Regions from separate parts of the Homo sapiens genome. Here region 1 is linked to region 2. Evidence: promoter capture Hi-C in human tissues and cell types (Jung and others, 2019). All regions are on one chromosome and are shown on one strand. The core of a region is centred on a gene start or on the middle of the fragment in contact, and the rest is flanking DNA. Distances in the headings are between cores, read along the strand shown.

Evidence for each region. Contacts are between HindIII fragments. The study calls those that stand out against the background at their distance.
Region 1: a contact is called between a fragment that was not itself captured here and the fragment with the promoter of DEFB128 in region 2, in 3 of the 25 tissues and cell types used here (heart right ventricle, mesendoderm cells and thymus).

What each region holds. Positions count from the first base shown.
Region 1 is chr20:238,704-242,183 of GRCh38, forward strand. No RefSeq gene overlaps it. Among named protein-coding and RNA genes, the nearest start is that of DEFB129, 13 kb to the left of the region's middle. The HindIII fragment of the contact is 4,422 bases long and covers 1-3,480 here.
Region 2 is chr20:187,367-191,366 of GRCh38, forward strand. DEFB128 (defensin beta 128) reads right to left here and starts at 2,345. Exons shown (of 2, transcript NM_001037732.3): 1 at 2,209-2,345; 2 at 487-752. The coding sequence starts at 2,257. The coding sequence ends at 520. The HindIII fragment of the contact is 16,618 bases long and covers 1-3,976 here.

The sequences.
Region 1 (3,480 bases), core at 487-2,986, 51 kb after region 2:
GGTGGTGCGCACCTGTAGTCCCAGCTACTCAGGAGGTTGAGGCAGGAGAATCGCTTGAACATGGGAGGCGGAGGTTGCAGTGAGCTGAGATCACACCACTGCACTCTAGCCTGGGTGACAGAGCTAGACTCCATCTCAAAAGAAAAAAAAAAAGAAAAAGCACACGACTAGTTATCATAGATACTGTTGGCTACTGTTTCCTCTCTGTTGTGTGGGTCTGAGCAAAGAGAGGGAATGGGATGCACCGTGCTTTCAGCTCTCTATAGTCTCTTCTGGATTTCAGTGTTTCAGCACAGCCCTAAAAACTACCACATGATTATGCCCCACGTAACAGTCAGATCACCTTGTCTCTAGAGAGACCACGCATCCATAACGAAGAACCTCTTATAACCATGGGTTCCACATCTTTACGGCTTAATCACTGATGCTCTCAGTGAACCTGAAAATTGATCCTGCTGAACAAGATCAATAAACAGAGTTTTGATTCAAAGGCAGCCCAATGAGTTAATAAGTGCTCCATGACAATGCCAAAGAGGATTAAGGAAAGAATAGCAACCTGGAGGAAGATGTATAGAAAAGCAGACCAGGTGCGGTGGCATGCGCCTGTAGTCCCAGCTACCCAGGAGGCTGAGGCAGGTGAATCATTTGAACCTGGGAGGTGGAAGTTACAGTGAGCCGAGATCACGCCACTGCACTCCAGCCTGGGAGACAAAACGAGACTCTGTCAAAAACAACAACAAAAAAAAACCAATATTAATAATGCAAATATTTGAGTTACAGGGCATTTTTAAGAGCCAGATACAGTACTGGGAACCTTGAGTATATTATCTCATTTAGTCCTTAAAACAACCCCATAGACTTTATATAAATAATACAACTGAAAGTTTAACTTAAGTTGCTGAAGTTCACAGATAAGCAGTAGAATCAGGATTGGAACCCATGTCTCATCATATCAGAGACCCTACGCTTAAGTGCTATGCTTCCTTGACTCTCACTGGCAACAGCTTTGGTGCATGTACCTAATGCCAGTTATATCATAAAGGATCTACATGGATAAGCTTATTTCATACTCTTAGAAATGGTTTGGAAGAGGCCAGGCGTGGCGGCTCACACCTGTAATCCCAGCACTTTGGGAGGCCTAGGCAGGCAGATCACGAGGTCAGGAGATCGAGACCATCCTGGCTAACATGGTGAAACCCCATCTCTACTAAAAATACAAAAAATTAGCCAGGCATGGTGGCATGCACCTGTAATCCCAGCTACTCAGGAGGCTGAGGCAGGAGAATTGCTTGAACCTGAGAAGCAGAGGTTGCAGTGAGCCAAGATCACGCCACTGCACTCCAGCCTGGGTGACAGAGTGAGACTTCGTCTCAAAAAAAAAAAAAAAAGTTTGGAAGAAGCTATAGAAGTCTCGATATTACTGGTGACCCAGTATAAGGAGGAGTGGTGAATATCCCTATTCTAAAGGATTTCCTAATCCTGAAGGATTTGGACAGCTCCTGCAATTGCCAAATGTAAGCGGCCTGAAAAGTTCACACTTAGATTATTGCCTTTATTTTTGGCTCCCACACTGTAAAAGAAATTAGAATTAGAGCACAGATACAAAAGCTATGATAATGAAAGTCCTAAAAAAAATTCCATTAAGAAACACACACATATAAGTCAGAAATTCATTGGGAATACCTTTGCATTTTAAGAGATGAGAAGGAAAGAGTTAACAGTAGTCCTGAAATCAATTCTCTCCCTTTAACAGGAGATACTTCTGGCAGGAAAGAAAAAAAAAAAAAAAAAACTTGACTCTGACTCTGTCAGATCTCCTTATAACATGCTAATAAGAGACCTTCTGGTAAATATGCTAATGATATTCACTAGCAGAGGGGTCTTTATGTAGCAGAATGCATCTGCTCAGTCCTCAATTGCTTCTGGTAAACAAACTTAGAGTCTATGAATTTACAGGGCATGGCTCCTTGAAAAATGTCATGTGTTTGTAATGCTAAGTAATTGCCAGAGAATAAAATGGAGATGTTTCTAGCTAAAATAGCCCCTTTGGGTAGCTGATGGGCACCCATGCATCACAGACATCACTTAGAGATCTTTCATGTTAAACCTATCCCATGGCTTATTTTCATGAGGCAAGAAAGGACCTGGGAAGTGGTGTGGACATCCCAGACTTTTGCATTTTTACCTGCTTCGTAATTACCCGTATCCTTGAAATTATTACTAAAGCTTAATGCTGGGAAAGATCTCTGATTCCCCTGATTCTGATTTGGCAAGCCAATCAATCTTTTGTATTAATCAGGAAAGAAAGCCAATATTTCTATATGAATATACTCATCTCAAAACTTTTCAGAAAAGATATTTTCCATACATGGAAATAGCTTAATTAACTTTTTCTGATTATGAGGTTACTTATAGTCATTTTGAACACTCAGACAAAACAGAAAACTTTATGGAAGATAAAATAAGAATAACAAAATCTTTCCCAAAGAGAAAGACCATTAAATTTTTGTATATATCCTTCCAGAGAATACACAAATTATATGTATATATATTTTACATGTATACATATATAACAAAGACTAGCTTATACTACCCACGCTTTCCTGTCATTTTTCTTTTCTACCTAAGATATCACTGACAGTCTTTTATATAATAAGGATAGTCCTCAATTATCATCATTGTTTAAATGGAATTCTAATGTGTTAAGTGCCATAAATTAGCAGATTCTCTATTGATAGACATTTAGCTTACTTTTCACATTCTCACTATGAGTAATGCTAAGAAGGCAATATAGTTCTTGCACCTTCATGAACATATTCTTTTATGCTATGTGCATTATTTTGGGTCAAAGGGCAAGCAGAGTTTCATTTAATTTTGTTTTAGACATGGGCTATATATTGACAAATTGCCCTCCCAGGAACAGTACACAGTTTTTCTTATGTTGCCTCACCCATGCCAGCAGTAGCTAGAAAATGCATTTCCAAAGACTGGTGCTAATTTTCTGTGCATTCTGTGAGTGCTCAGTCAATTTAAGCAATAACCACTTAGAGTAACAAAATCTATTCACCCTAATAGCAGAGATTTCTACTTCATCCCTGGCTCACTGCCCAACTTTTGATCTCATCTAAGGCCAATAAATGTAGCTCCAGACAAGTGACACAGGTAGCTCTGTCCCCATCCAATCTACCCAGCTACTTCTCTTAAGGCACGTTCTGATCCTTCAAGCATGAAGTTCTTGCCTCTGGCTTTTGTTTCTCTCTTGTTTCTGGCTTCAGTGACCTTGAGTACCCTGGAATCTTCCATATTGAGAAAGAAATGATAGAGGGGAGGGGACATGGAAAAAAGAATTAAATATATCTATTTTTAAAAAGAAAGAAAATTTTAGAATGGACATGTCTAGAAGGAGGAGGAAACAGAGGAGGGGGACAGGTATAAAAACTGGACTTCTCTGAATATACTCTGCTTTGAAGGTTTGACTTT
Region 2 (4,000 bases), core at 1,095-3,594:
ATTGGGTACACATTGACATAACGATGGGAACAATAGACACTGGGGACTAATAGAAGAGGGAAGGAGGAGAGGAGAAAGGGTTGAAAAACTAACTGTTGGGTACTATATTCAGGACCTGAGTGATGGGATCAGTTGTACCCCAAACCTCAACAACACACAGTACACCAATGTAACAAATCTGCACATGTACCCCTGAGGCTAAAATAAAAGTTGAAATTATTTTCTTAAAAATGGAAAGGCTAAATTCCACCTCTACCAATATGTTTACTTAATTTTTATATCCCCCATCTTACTGGTATAAAACCAGGAACATGGCAACCATTCATTTATGTTTGAAGTGTTCAAAAAATGAGTGACTACATCAATAAATGTACTCAGAGGAAAGCACAGGACTTTATTATGTGGGGAATCAAGTTCACAGAAGGAAGCAGATGAATCTTTTGCTGCAGGCTGCTGGATTAGGCAGCACTTTTTATTTAGGAAGAGTGGAGACCAGCGAGACAAGGGCTAGATTTAGGATTAGACTGTGAAAATGGTGATGGTGGGTAAGATGATGTAATCCTGCAGCACACTCAGCTTCTCACCAGAATGTTGATGTGGCTTCTTAAATGACACATGTTTTTTCTCTTCTTCATCATTAGCACAACATAATTTCCCACTTAGACATCCTATTTCATATCTTTCTCCTACCTTGCATTTCTTCCTGCAATAGCCTGTTACTTTATTGAAGCATTTTTTGAGTCTTGCCCCGTCTGTGCATAGGAAACAACATTGAACCAAGGTTAGTGCGTAAGGAAGAGCAGAAGAGGTAGGTATGTGGTTCCCCACAAGTCATGGCCTCCTATGGTCCCAAGTGAACATTATGCTGATAAAAGGAAACTCAGAGGCCCCTCCTTGAAAAATATCCCAAATTAAGGACATTCAAAAGCCCAGGCTCTCAGCCAATGTCCAGTTGCCTCTGAGAACATTAGAACTGATATGACAAAAGAGAAGAGAGAACTCAATTCCTGGTTATCAACCAGAGCCAAGTCCCACCCCTAGGACCATGGCAAAGCTGACTCTCTCCACCAAGCTCCAAAGTCAGCACTCTCTCAGCTCCATCTCAGTCTCATGTCCCCAGAGACGGCTAACATGTCACCATGTGCACAAGACATGTCACCATTGGCACAACTCAGCCAAAGCAACTTTTGAAAGAACATCACAAACAAGACTTTTTAACTTAATTCGGTTTCACACTCACTGATATGGGCAACAGAAATCTCCCTTTGACAAGATCTCATGGGTCTCAGCAACAGGTGCTATTGAGAACTCCTTCCCTTAACCTGGCTCCTCCTGTCTGTCACTCATCACACTCCCCTTGATCTCAGATAAATGTGTTGCCCAGGGATCAAATTCAATTCCATGAATTTGGCTCTAGAGAGCTACATTGTCACCTTCTCAGAGTAATGCACTGAAATTCTAAGTCTCTTGTTTCTAATCCTTATTTGCCCCTCTACCCAAAATTTGAACAAGCCCAAAGAATAAGGTTGGAGAAGAGAGACATACTCTCCCTATCCTAAACTTCAGAATCAGGGAACATCTTTGAGGGTTAGAGGAGTATATTTTGGGGCCATAAAAATACAATATGCCTTCTTCCTAGCAAGAGAGAAGGTAACTCTCACTGACAGGGCTTCTACGATGAACTTTGTGCTTCGTGCTTGTAAGTTCATGTAACCTGTACATCAAATAGAATCATGAAATATAGTAATTATACTCCTTCACAGATGAGAAAATTGAGATTAAAAGGAAATAATGTGCTTAATTCATACAACCCGTCAATGATGAAGACATATTTTAACCTCACATTGACATGACTCCAAAATGTGTGCTATTTTAATTACTGTTGTAGTACAGGCTGAAAATGAATTTGAATGGAAAAGGGAATGGCCAGGCTCTCAGGTGAAAACTGTGTCCAGCATTATAAAGATAATTCTAGATGATGAGTTCATGGATACTTTTGAAAAGGACTCCTGAGAGTCCACTATAGCCCTGACCTCCTCTTACCTCCTTGGGTGCCTCTCTTCTAAGGCATAGACTCAAGTCAGGCAACCAGGAGAATGGGTACTTTTTTATGATTTTGGCCAAATATAAATAATCTTGAAAGTCCTGTTCCCACTCTTACAAATAGTAATATCTCTTAGGATGTTATAGTACATTTGGACAAGTTACCTGTGAGTACCTCAAACAGCAGAATAATGAGAACCAGAAACAGCTTCATATTTACAGACTTCCCAAGAGAAAGAGGCAGCAGAACTTTGTCCAGTGGTCTGTGTGCCACAGGTCTTTAAAGATGATCCAGAGTTTTGAGAGCTATCAGCGCTCGGAGCTCTCATTTTAACCCACACAGACAGAGAGGAATTCCAAGTCCACCCCCGTAACACACACACCTACATCCCCAAATATGGAGCTCACAGTCCCAGAATGTTCCACCATATCATCCCTCCTCCCCCTTCCTCAGGATATGCGCCCCTAGAGAGCAGGAACTATGACTTTCCGTCTGAGCTTCCAACCCATTTGGGTCAAGGTTGGTTGGTCGTGGGCCTTGGGTTGTGTGGGATAATCCTGTCTTATTCCTATTGTTCCAATGTTCCATCCGGCTACTGCTGCCTCTAACAAAACTAACCCAGTTTGGAAGATAAATTAAGTCATTAGTCGACACAGAAGCATATTCAACAATAATTTTTTTAATGTATAAAGCTTCCAGATAGTCATTCTAGGAGTAAGATTGCTTTTAGGTTTGGCTAGATAAATTGATATTATTTGAGAGTTTCCCATAAAGACTTGTCCATCTAGTAGAGCAAAATTCAACAACTGAAAGTTTTCAAAAGATCAAATCTCCTTAGCACAGCACTCAACTTATTATAAACTGGTCTCTGCTCTCCTCTCTTGGGACATTTTATGGAACCATCTATGTTTCTCCCAAACTAGTGGGTACACCTTCCTGAACTTTTACTTCCTTAATCTGTTTCTTTTCACATTTAAATCCCTCCTTACAGATTATATTACACTCCCCATCCCCTCCATATAATTGGTGCTAGTGAACTCCTGGTTTTCCTTCAAAACCAAGTTCAATCATCTCTATATAAGTGAAAGTTTCCCTGACCCAACTAAACAGAGCTGCAAACTCTCTTCTTCGCACCATCACTGTATTTGTACATATTTTTGTTGATGGTCACACTATGTCATGTTCCAATTATTTGTTTATCTGCAATAGTCTGCAGACCCATAAAGGGCAGGTCTCTGGTCTTATTAGACTTGGAGTTCTTTTTCTTTTTTTTTTTTTTTTTGCAGTTGCAAGATTTAATAGAGTGAAAATGGAGCTCCCATACAAAGGGAGGGGACCCAAAGAGGTTAGCCGTTGCCGGCTCGAATGCCTGGGTTTATATCCCAATCATTGTCCCTCCTGCTGTGCTCTCAGGCAATAGATGATTGGCTATTTCTTTACCTCCTGTTTTTGCCTAATTACCATTTTAGTGAGCTCTCTTTCCTACCTGATTGGTCACATGTGAGCTAAGTTGCAAGCCCCGTGTTTAAAGGTGGATGCGGTCACCTTCCCAGCTAGGCTTAGGGATTCTTAGTCGGCCTAGGAAATCCAGCTAGCCCTGTCTCTCAGTACCCCCTCTCAACAGGAAAACCCAAGTGCTGTTGGGGAGGTTGGCCGACGACCGCTCTAACTGCTTCCTCCTGAATTGGGGCATAGTAGGGGTTGTGCAGTTGAGATTTCCTCAGGAGGGGTGCCTTCGATGTCATTAACATTGGAGCATGGGCTAGCAGGCCGGTCCAATGGTCCACGGTAGCTCTTAGTCATGGACGGCATCTGTGGCTCCATTTGAAGAATGATTTGTAGTTTTACAGCTTTGATTCTGGAAAAGACAAACTTAACAAGGAGGTTAAAGATACAGGGATTGAAATGTATGGCCTGCAGTGCAGGGGATTATTTCTTTGGCACACTTTACAGGCC